2 separate regions of the Homo sapiens genome follow, and region 1 is linked to region 2. The links are contacts of gene promoters, found by promoter capture Hi-C in blood cells and fetal thymus (Javierre and others, 2016). All regions are on one chromosome and are shown on one strand. Each heading gives the region's core, a stretch centred on a gene start or on the middle of the fragment in contact. The rest is flanking DNA. Distances are from core to core; before and after follow the strand shown.

Region 1 (6,222 bases), core at 3,286-5,785, 2.9 Mb before region 2:
TCCCATATGGGCCAGATTCACTCAATAGAAGTGGTCAGCTGTGGTGACATTTTATTCCCAGCTTATACAATGGAGTGGAGAGACTAATGGGCAACAATAACAGGGCTGGGGTTTAGGGCTTAACAATGTCTTGCCAGGGATCTTGATAGGGGTAGTTTCTAACCAGCTGAGAGTGTGAGATAGAACTCGTAGCCAACCAGCTTATCACTGAAGATGATGGCACCTGTCTAGCCAGAATAAGAACTGAGATGAAGATCTCTCATTGGTACCTCACTTTTAAAATCATAGGATAGATGGGGAGCTCAAGGAGCAGCATCTTGGGGAGAGGGAAGGAGAGAGAAGCTCATATGAAATTTGGGGAGGTTATTCCAGTTCCTACCTTTCCAGTCTCAAACTCTGGAGAAAGGAAATAGCCCAGGGCCTGATGTGGAGGTTCTTTTTATGAGCTCTCTTTGTCTCTGCATGGTCAAATATATTTATTTAGAGTTGATCATTTCAAAGTTATCAATTGCTCAGTTAGTCCTTTCTCTCCACTTAGTCTCTGGCTTCCTGCCTTTTAATGCCTTACCTGCTTGTGAGCATTCCCACCTCTGGATGGAGAGATGCAAATAAACACATAAACTCACCCAACACAGTTTTGCTGGTCTTTCTACCCCAAACTAAAAAAGGAGGGAAGGAAGAAGAAGGCCCAGAAAGAAGTTCAGCAAACATGAAATCTGAGGAATTTGAAATAAAAGACACAAGTCAAAAGAGAGATCTTCTTAGAGTCACCAAGATGAGTGAGTACATCATGAGATGATTTCAGGCACAGGAGAACTCAGAGCACTTCTCATAATGGAGATAGCCAGAGGAGAAGAAACCCCTGAGGGAGACAGGTAGCAGAACATGAGGAGAGAAATGTTTGGGGAGTAGCAGTATTTTTTTTTTTTTTTGAAGCTTTGTCTGAAACAGAAAGATCTAGCATGGTCAGGCTGCTTATATACCCAACTTGATATAAGGAGTCACATCGGTCCAACACGTTTCTCTGGAGCAGGACTCTATTTACCCACTGGAAACATATGCCTGCATATCTCATTCATTTCCTAGGGAAGTCTCAACTCTGAGTAAGATGTATTTGTAACAGGATTGGCAGGAAGACAATGCACACTGTCTGGGGGCGTGAGGAGAAAGGCCTGTTCACGTTCCTTTGCCAACACCAGTGCCAAGAAAGCTGCTCTTCACAGACCAGTCCTAAACCAGCAGTCTTGCAGGCATGTTTCCCTCAGCAGCTGTTAAGTCACTGACTCCCTTTCTTACCACTTCATGTTCTAGTCTTTAATTTGCTTACTGTTTTGCCTGTACCCTCTTACCCTGGGAAAGGCAGTGCTTTCCTTAACTCAGAAGTTGCACAACAAGCTCAAGTGGAAACAAAAGGATTTGTGTCTTTTTCTGTGGGTACTGGGGAGGAGGTGATACAGGAAGGAATAGCTTTGTTTTTCTCCACCAAGAGAAATATAAAAGCAACGTTTCACTTTCATTGATACTTCATTGTAAGTGCCCATACATTAGTAGGTATACAAGAAAGTGAAAAAAGTGAGAACAAATGATTAAAGGCTTGGCAATTGGACACCACAGGGAGAGGGAGAATGCTCATTATGGGGAAAAAGGCTAAAGGTCTCCTGCTAGCAATCTGAGTTGATGAAGGGCTCTCATTTGGAAGATGGTGGCTAGCTGTTCTCCATTACCTCTGAGGACCCAACAAAAGGATCTGGCCTTAGGTTGCAACAAGAAAAGTTTATAAAGGCATATAACAAATTATTTATTGACGGTGAGAGTTGTTAAGCTACTAAGAGATATTATAGATTTCCCTTTCCTAGAGTTCTTTAAAAGTAATGGAGATAACCATTTGCCATGTATGGTTTAGGTGGGTTTCCTGCATCATATAGGTTGAGGTGACTTCTACCCACGAGGCTGTGCTAGAATGGCTAGCATTATCTCTAAAGATGAGCAAACATTAGGCTTTAGTAAGGATAGCAAATTCAGAACAGAACTCATATTTTTATCCTATTTATTACAACTTTCTGGCAACATCCACTGCATCTCATACAACCAATCTCGGAAACAGGCTTGCGGCCCATCTAGCAGATTTAAAAACCTGAGGAATGAGGGATAATGTGACACCTAAAGAGAGAGGTTCAACTGCAATCCTATCAATGCCTGGTAACTTGACCACTCTACAAGAGCATCAGGGTGAGTTCTTGGTTCCTGAAATCCAGTGTGGCTGTTTGGCTGGATATTCCAGGACAGGGAAACAAAGCTGTTACATACATGAAGTATACAACAGGAATTAAGATAGAATAAAATATAGCATTGTTTGTGATTTCTAGTTATGTAAATATAAAGCGACTTAACCGGTTTCTGGGAATGAACTTGGATTGCTTTGGAGGGTTGTCATGAAGGAGATTACTCCATTGCAGGTGGCATAACTAAAAGCATTTTCTAGAATACACTTCACTGTCCACCACATGTGAACATAAAGCAGTGTGTGAACAGACTCCATGTGCCCTGCAGCCTCTCTATCCAGCCACAAGGGAAGTTGGGCTGAGACTCATATTGTGTTCAGAAGCTATTAAGTAATTGGATCTCTGAGATCTCTTTCTTGATTGCGTTCAAGTCAAGTCGATGATTTAGAAAGGTTTGCATTTAAAGTGTATAAGCTTCATATCTTCAATGTTTAATTCCATAGTCACTTTTAACTTTATATTGTTTGAGTCCTGAAAAGAGAATATTAGAGAATTATCTGTGGCAGTGATTCTTAACCTGCTGTCCACGGATTGTGCTAGCCCACAACATCTCTAGTCCTAAATAGGGTGACCATTTCATCCAAGGTTTTTTGGGACTTTCCTGGTTTTATCACTAAAAATTCCACATCCCAGGAAACCCCTGAGTCCCAGGAAAACTGACATAGTTGGTCACCCTAGTCATAAATGAAATAAGGACTATGCGTTTTTCCTAAAGTTGAAAGTACTTCATCTAAATTCTGAAGGACAATGAGTTTTTCTAAAGCTAAACACATTTAATTTAAATTGAATTTTGAGAATTTGTCTTCCTATGTCTTGGCTTCAAAACGTCGCTTTTAAACTGAAATCATGGTGACAGTAGTTGATAGTATTGTAGTTTAATTTAACAGCTTCATTTGTCACAGGTGAGGACAACCATATATTACAACCCCTCCCCTCATTTCTACTGTAGTCACGGCACTACACAGAGATAGTCCGTTCCTCTGCCTTAAGTTCTCTGCCCCTCCTACTGGTTGTTATATTGGGACTTTTTAAAAAATTTTATTTTTCCATAAGTTATTGGGGGTACAGGTGATATTTGGTTACATGAGTAAGTTCTTTAGTGGTGATTTGTGAGATTTTGGCGCACCCATCACCCGAGTAGTATACACTGCACCGTATTTGTAATCTTTTATCCCTCGCCTTCCCCCCAAGTCCCCAAAGTCCCCAAAGTCTATTGTGTCATTCTTATGCCTTTGCATCCTCATAGCTTAGCTCCCACATATCCGTGAGAAATATGATGTTCAGTTTTCCATTCCTGAGTTACATCACTTAGAATAATAGTCTCCAATCTCATCCAGGTCGCTGCAATAATGACTTCTTTTTCTCTAGGCAGATACCCAGTAGTGGGATTGCTGGATCAAATGGTAGTTCTACTTTTAGTTCTTTAGGGAATCTCCACACTGTTTTCTATAGTGGCTGTGCTAGTGTACATTCCCACCACCAGTGTAGAAGTGTTCCCTGTTCACTGCATCCATGCCAACATTTACTGTTTTTTGATTTTTTGATTATGGCCATTCTTGCAGGAGAAAGGTGGCATTGCATTGTGGTTTTGATTTGCATTTCCCTGATCATTAGTGATGTTGAGCATTTTTTCATATATCTGTTGGCCATTTGTATATCTTTTTTAATAATTGTCTATTCATGTCTTTAGCCTACTTTCTGATGGGATTTTTTTTTTCTTACTGATTTGTTTGAGTTCGTTGTAGATTCTGGATATTAGTACTTTGTCAGATGTATAGATTGTGAAGATTTTCTCTCTCTGTGGGTTGTCTGCTTACTCTGCTGACTGTTCCTTTTGCTGTGCAAAAGCTCTTTAGTTCAATTAGGTCCCCGCTATTTATCTTTGTTTTTATTGCATTTGCTTTTGGGTTCTTGGTCATGAAATCCTTGCCTAAGCCAATGTCTAGAAGGGTTTTTTCAATGTTATCTTCTAGAATCTTTATGGTTTCATGTCTTGGGTTTAAGTCCTTATTCCATCCTCAGTTGATTTTTGTATAAGGTGAGAGATAAGGATCCAGTTTCATTCTCCTACATGTGGCTAGCCAATTATCCCAGCACTAGTTGTTGAAAAGGATGTCCTTTCCCCACTTTATGTTTTTGTTTGCTTTGTTGAAGATCAGTTGGCTGTATTTGGGTTTTTCTGGGTTCTCTATTCTGTTCCATTGGTCTATGCGCCTATTTTTATACCAGTGCCACGCTGTTTTGGTGACTATGGCCTTATAGTATAGTTTGAAATCAGGTAGTATGATGCTTCCAGATTTGTTCTTTTTGCTTCATACTGGGACTTTTCATCTCCAGGTGATGATGTCCATGAGGGACATTCGGAGTTAGTTTTGACTACAAGTGCTGAGATTGAAAGAAATTATATACTTGCCCTGATGGTGTTTGCACTATGTCTGGAGAAATTGGGTTTCCTTCTGTCTTCAATATTTTTTGAAAATCTCTATGGGAAATCATGGAGGCTTTTAATTGTAATACTTTTGGGGTAATACTGTAGGGGAAGGCTTCAGGTAAAAGAAAAGTGAGAAATTATGGCTTTGCCGTTGAATCACTGTGTACCCTTGGGTAGGTCGCTTGTCTTTCTGAAGCCCAATTTGCTCATTTGTAAATTTAGGATAATATCTTTCTTACTAACCTAAGAAGACCGTTGGGCAGAGCACATATAATAATGGATTTGGAAGGGATTGTGATGACACAGCTAATAACTGTTTGTCAGCTTGTTTCCTCTCCTCCTCTGGCCTGGGCTGCTTCATCAGGAAATGAGTCTGTAATGGAGGGCTGCTTGCACTTTTTGTAATCTTACAAACTCTAATACAACAAGCAGAGGCATTACCTCATTGCGGCCAACCATACCTGCTGTCTAACAGCAATTACTCAAAACTAGTTCCACTTCTCCCCCTGTTGCCTTTCAATCCCTCATCACATCTTTCTCTCATTTCTCCCATTCTCAGCCACAAAGCCTAATTCCCAGGGGCCCAGCTCAGGGCACTTTCTTCCCAAGCCCTAACATTCCAGAGTAAGCACCTGCAATTTACGATCTCTGCTCCCTTCCTGCACAAAACACGTAGCACAAAATACATATGTATCAATAGGGGAATTGTGGTTGAGTAAAAAAAGAGCATTATATTAAGAATCAAATAACTGGGCTCTGATCTGGCCAGTGTACCTCACTAGCCCTTCACCCTTGAGTAAATCACTTCCTCTCCATATTCCCACCTGTAAAGTCATGGAGAGGGGGTAGTTTAACATTGTGTGGTAGAAAAGTACTGGCCTAGGCATCTGCAGATCAGGTTTCAGGTTCTGATGTTGCTGCTTGCTAACTTACTCTGTGACTTGAAGAAAATCACTTCCTCCTTTACTGGGCAAAATTCTCCCATATGTAAAACAAGAAGGTTGGATTAAATGATTCATTAAGTTCCCTACCCATCTGGAAATTGAATGATTCTATGAAATGGGTTTCACTAAACAAACTTGAAATGGACTGCCTGCTCTGTGTCAGGCACTGTTTGACAATGGTTGTGAAAGGGCTCATGACTGAGACCCTGAGACACTTAGTGCCTCTGCTGCTTGTTCCTGTCAGTGTCTAAAATTGGCAATGTGGCGATGACCCCATACAGCCAGTTCCTGCGCTTCCCCTGCTTTGGGTCCCCCAACCTCCTTCCCAGTCCTCTACACCACCACATATAACTTTAAGTAATGGTGGTGAATCATGGAGAAGTTTTTGAAACATATTCCACCATCTGCCTGCTGGAGACATTCACAGTGCTGTCATCAAGCTGCAGTGTGGTCTCTAGCCGGCCCAATAGAGAAACAGGCCAGAAAGCAATGGCAGATTAATGGAGTTGGGAGGAAAGTGGTTGATTTTTGACAGAGGGGTCTGTGAAAACCATTTGTGAGCTGA
Region 2 (5,733 bases), core at 1,356-3,855:
TTACAGAATAATAAAATAGGCAAGGCCTAAATATCAGTGCCTGTTAACAGAGCTGTCCTTTAAATTCTGTTTAGCTTCTAACAGACTAATTCTCATGCTTTTAGTACTTATTACATTGCATTTTGAATCTGTCAATTGCATTGTACATTTTCCTAACTCTTCCATTTCCATACGTTTATCTACTCCATTTCTAATTGGGTTGGTAGTTCTGGGTAGGACTCATTACAGAGGCAGCTTAATGTAGCGGCAAGCACCCTGGTCTAGGAGTCATAAGCAGTGTAGTAGGAAATTCAGGCTCTGTTACTACTTAGTTGTGTGACTGGACAAGACACTTAACCTGCATCTATTTCTTCATCTGTGAAATAGGGATAATAATACCCTATCTTCCTAACTAATAAACAACGTTGCAAATGTTCTCTTTAAAATGTCAGACAGCTGCTTGGGAAATATTTTGCTCCTGGGCAGTAATTTCTGGAAGGTTTCTGATGACAAGAAATTAAGCAAGGTTTGTTTTGACTCCGAAAAAGGAAAGCTGGAAATAGCGTGGTTATACTTGGTTTCCTTTTTGGAGGTATAGTTCTTCTTTCCTCTTCAACTTGGGTGCAGTTAAATGTGGAAGAAGGTGAGATGTGGTAGGTGATGAAGACAGCCAGAACTGTACACACTAATGAATAGCTTAAGTAATAAGAGATCTTGAAAATCCAAGTAGTTTCTTGGTCTGATAAACATATCTATATGTATATCATACACACATTTGTATACCAAAAAACGGATAGTTTCAGGCTATAGTGATTTCTTTCCTTTATATCTTGTAGAGCTGGAGGAACTTCAGTAAGCTGAAGACTCTGTTCAGAGGAAATTACCTAATTGAAAATGTCTGGGCTAAGAGACCGACAATAAAGGAAACTGGCAAAAGTACTCTTTAATTACAAGTTCTTTTTCATCTTCATCCAGCACACTGATTTATGTGCTACACTGGGTTTGTATTATATCTATATTTTAATTCCACAACTAGACACTAACTTTATTGAGAACAGCGATATTCATTTCTTCAATTTCATTTGTGTTAACCCAACTGTAGGTGATAGTGCTCTGTACATCATAGTTACCCAGTGAATTACGTACCTGACATATGATTGCTTATTTCTGGTATTAAAACAAGATTTCATAAAATAAACATGACAATTAAACTCGTTGTTTGAAGTACTGAACTTTGTAGGTCAATCTTGAAAAAGGAAGCTACATGACTGTCTTAGCAATATTTATAGGTATATTATATGTAAGTGGGTGGGTTTCTTGGAAATTGAATTGGTAATATGGCTTTAGAGTAGTAACACAAAAACTATAGCTCTGTGCTCTCAGCTAACCACTTTTAGTGTCACCTGGGCTGCTTATTAAAAATTCAAATTTCTTATCCCTACCCAGATCAGAATCAAAATACCTGGGGGTTGTAGCTCCAGGTACCTACATTTCAACAAGCACCCCAGATAATTGTGATGCACACTGAAGAACTACTCTAGCTTGTAATCTCAGGTGGTAAGGCATTTTATATATACATATATATATACACACACACAAGCACAAATGGTAATTCTATGGGAAAATGGAAATCAGCAAGTGAAGTGAAATGTCAATTACCATCAGGAACAGGAAGCTAGTTCACCATTACGCATCAGGGAACTGGAAGAATTCTTGAGATTTATTTTTTTGGGTGATATATTCTTGGCAGTTTATCAGGCCTCATTTGCAATTATGGTCTGTCCCTTTTGAAGCCCTCAGATAGTTCGCTGGCATTTTAATTTTAATAGCAATTTCTTGCATCTGTTGGAACAGCATTCGTATGACCGGCTTATAAGCAATGATCAGGGCTAGTAAGATGTCACAAAGCTGCGGTGACTTTTCCTTATCAGTTGGGGGTTTTTTTGCCATGATACCATCGTGGAAATGAAAGACAACGTGAAAATCCTGCGTCCTTGTGATATTTCATCAGTGGGAGTGAGCGGGGATCTTAACGCAGTAAGAGGCAAGATAAACGGATGAGAGGCATTAGTTCAGGCTTACAGGAGCAAGATGCTTTTAGTCAAAGTGTTCAAGATAGCTCTCTTAAAGAGGAGCAGTGAAACCCAAAAATGAGTGTCTTTTGAGGGCAGCTGGAAGATGACCCGAGGGGAACTTTTATCCTGGGGTGGAGTCCTGCGAAGCAAGCCGCAGGTGAGGGCGTGGGCCAATTCTGCGCCTCACTGCTGTTAGGCGCAAGGACATCCCGAAACACACTCAACGACACCAGCAGCGAGACTGACAGAAGCGGATCGCCAGCGGGAGCAACAACTTGAGGCGAGCCGTTAGCCGCCTCGCCTTCCTCGCAGCGCCCCTCCCGCGCCCCGGGAAGCCCGTTCGGCTCCGCCTTTTCGACTGACGTCCCGGGCGAGCGGGGGCGGGCGCGTGGGTGGGCCGAGCCGTCTGCAGCCAGCGATTCGGCTGGCTCTGCCACACCACCGCGCGCCCCCGCTCCGCCCGCCCCTCCGGGCGCGTCTTTTCCGGGCTCGCGCTGAGTCCCGCCTCCGCCGGCTGTCCGGGTGCGCGCGCGCCGCTGCGGCTTTTTCTCTGGCCTCCGCCGCGCGCTCCTCCTCGTCCCAGCGCTAGCGGGCACGCGGTTCCTTTTTGCGAGCTTTCCGAGTGCCAGGCGCCGGCCGGCTGCGAAGACGCGGTGGGCCGCCCCTCCGGTGAGTATCCCTGGATGGGGAGGTTGCGGCCCCGGCACCCCTGCCCTGTCGGTACCAGGGCCCCATTTCCAGAGGGGGACTGGCGTACCTCACCTGAGCCGGGAGGAGGTTGGGTGGGCATTCCAGCTCCTGGAGTCGGCTCGCTTTTTTCCTTGAGCCAGGGCTATCTATCCGCTCGCCTCCGCTGGGGCCGGGAAGATTCCCGAGGTCACTGTATCTGCTCCTGTGATGGACTCTGGGGTCCTCGGAACCCCAGCCTGCCTCTTCCTGCCGCTCACCGCATCCCGAGGGCCAGAAGTCATCTTCCTGATCGGGGTACTAGGCTTTGCCACGGCCCTTTCCGGAGGAGACCATGAAGTGCTTGCTAGACCTCCAAACGACCTTTAGGGTGCCCCTAAACCTCAACTCCATTTTGTCCCCTCCCAGTCGCTCTGTAACTGAGGGCTAGGGAGCCTCTCTAGCCCTAGAGGCATCCGCCCTCTCGAATTTGAGGGATGCCGTCGCTTCCGATATCTTCCTTGCTTCCGATATCTTCCTAGCTTCCGTAGGCTTAGGTTTGTTAGAAAACAGCTGGATCCTGGCGAAGCGTGCTTTCCTTCCTTCCCCCACCCCCGTTCTTTCTGTCTACATCCCTGCCTTCAGTGGGTGCTATATATTTAGTATGAGCTTTATTCACTTCCTCTTCCTCTCGTTTGAGTGCCTGAAAGAACTGTGGCTGATGTCTATAGACATAGAAAAATCTAGGAGAATATGATTCATTGTCTAACCCCATCAAGGGGTTACATATTTTAAATAAGACGTCATTTCTCCTCTTCACTCCAGCATCTCCTCCTTCAAAGGCATTTTTCACCCTCTTGAAATTAATACGCTCTATTCGCTCTTTTCACCTAAAAAAAGGTCAATCGTCGCTCTGAGAAACAACAGTGAGATGCAAAATAAGGGTAAAATGGCATTGAAATGAATCCCTTTGAAAAAGTAAGCGGTTTGCTTTATCAGTTAATGGTCTCATCAGCGCTTCAGTTTCCTCTTCTGCAAAAATCAGTCTGTTGAACTAGAGCATATCAAAGGTTCCTTCTAGTGTTTTGATTCTAGGACCTCTAAATTCATGCAGGCTGCATAATGCAAATTTAACCTGATTAAAGCCTTATTTCTCATAGTCGCTTGTCACCTTAGTTTTTCTTTTATTTTGTCTCTAACAAGAAAGACTTTTAAATGTTCTTGATACGTAAGGCAGCAGGTGGAGATTCAATGATGGTACTGCCATTGAGCATATCGGTCAAGATTTTAACAGTGTAAGGCCTCTTCCTTAAATTGTAAAATAGCTCATCTTTTGATTGAAACTGCTAAAGTGTAAGACATGTAAGACTCCTGTTAGAATTAACACTCTCTGCCATTTAGGTGGGGGATGAAACATTAAACTGTTAGTATACTTGTACCTTAGAATAAAGTACCTTATTGTCCTGCTATAAGAAATAATTTGACAACTAAAAATCCATGGAAGGTGTAATACAGCAATTGAAAGCTTGAGTAAATTCAATTTTGTGGGTTTTTTTTTTTTTTTGGAAAACCCCCTATTTAAAAACACAAGTGATTTAGATTAAGATATTTCTTTCAGTATTTTTGGTAGGGGTGAGATGGGTGAAGAAAGAAGAGTCTTGTTCAATTCAGACAAGAGAAATGAATTGGAACTCTGGAGAGGCTCAGGTTCTAGACCCAACTCTAGATATATATTTAACCTTGAACAAGTCACTTCACCTCTCTTAGTTTTTGCATCTGTAAAATAAGTGTCTTTATGGTTGTTGAAATGATCCACAAGTCCCCCAATTTGAATGATATATTCTTATAATGAATATATATGACAAATATATATATACACACGTGTATATATAGGTATACACACACACATATAATGCAATTTGCGTTAAGGCTGTTATAAATCCTGTTATACCAGTTGACTAGAATGTTTTTCTCAAAGGTTTGTGTATAGTGGTTTCAATTTAGGTATACTTAGTTCTTAATCCTGATTAAATAAATAATTATATGTGAAAATCTATAAACTCAGAAGCATTTTACAAATGTTGGGTATTATGTTAATTTCTGCTTGCAAGTGAAATGTGTGTTATACCGCACTATTTTTTAAATGTCCATGGCTTTTAGAAATTTATAAGGGAATGGCTGGGTGTGGTGGCTCACGCCTGTAATCCTAGCACTTTGGGAGGCCGAGGCCGGCGGATCATGAGGTCAGGAGATCGAGACCATCCTGGCTAATACGGTGGAACCCCGTCTCTACTAAAAATACAAAAAATTAGCCAGGCGTGGTGGTGGGTGACTGTAGTCCCAGCTACTTGGGAGGCTGAGGCAGAAGAATGGCGTGAACCCGGAAGGTGGAGCTTGCAGTGAGCCGAGATCGCGCCACCGCACTCACATACTGCCTTACAACTGTAATTGGCTAGGAACTTTAAAATAATATGTGGGCATCTCATTCATTTATTAATTCATTCAACTATCTTCTTCCTTCATCTGTCACGTATGTCAGGCCCTCAGGACATGATGGTTAAGACAAACCCTACTCTATGAGTTTATACTTTGGGCTGATGGAGATGGTTGGGGGGCATGTGGAGAGACAGATGTACATCCAGTTTATTTTTGTTAAAAACAACAACAGTCAAATCAAGGACAAACAAAATTCTGGAGAAGTTAAGTTTCCATAGGGGAGGAAGAGATGATTCTATTAATTGTAGCCTGTAGACTCTTTGACATTACCTTTTTCTCCATCCTTTCAATTGCTGAGCCTTTAGCAAAAATAAAAGCTTTGTTTTTCCACTTCTACCATTGGCTGGTCTTATATACTCTTTCTTTCCCTTTTAACTTTTTATTTTGAGATAGTTGTAGATTCACATATAGTTGTAAGAAATAATACGCTTTATCTAATTTCCCCCAATAATAGCCTCATGCATAAGTATAGTGTAACATCACAACTACAAAATTGAAATCGATGCAATCCATCAAC

What was found. Contacts are between HindIII fragments. The CHiCAGO score rates a contact against its expected background, and 5 or more counts as called.
Region 1: a fragment that was not itself captured here is called in contact with the fragment with the promoter of ACSL4 in region 2 in 1 of 17 cell types (non-activated CD4 T cells); the score reaches 9.0 in non-activated CD4 T cells.

Annotation. Positions count from the first base shown.
Region 1 is chrX:112,672,372-112,678,593 of GRCh38, reverse strand. The region is part of intron 1 of LHFPL1 (LHFPL tetraspan subfamily member 1); the gene reads left to right. Among named protein-coding and RNA genes, the nearest start is that of LHFPL1, 4.5 kb to the left of the region's middle. The HindIII fragment of the contact is 3,674 bases long and covers 2,699-6,222 here.
Region 2 is chrX:109,730,129-109,735,861 of GRCh38, reverse strand. ACSL4 (acyl-CoA synthetase long chain family member 4) reads left to right here and starts at 2,605. Exons shown (of 16, transcript NM_001318510.2): 1 at 2,605-2,723. It overlaps LOC105373311 (a long non-coding RNA gene), which reads right to left and starts at 3,351. Exons shown (of 1, transcript NR_158569.1): 1 at 904-3,351. RefSeq lists silencers at 2,343-2,652, 2,750-2,870 and enhancers at 2,993-3,132, 3,193-3,242. The HindIII fragment of the contact is 5,191 bases long and covers 1-4,247 here.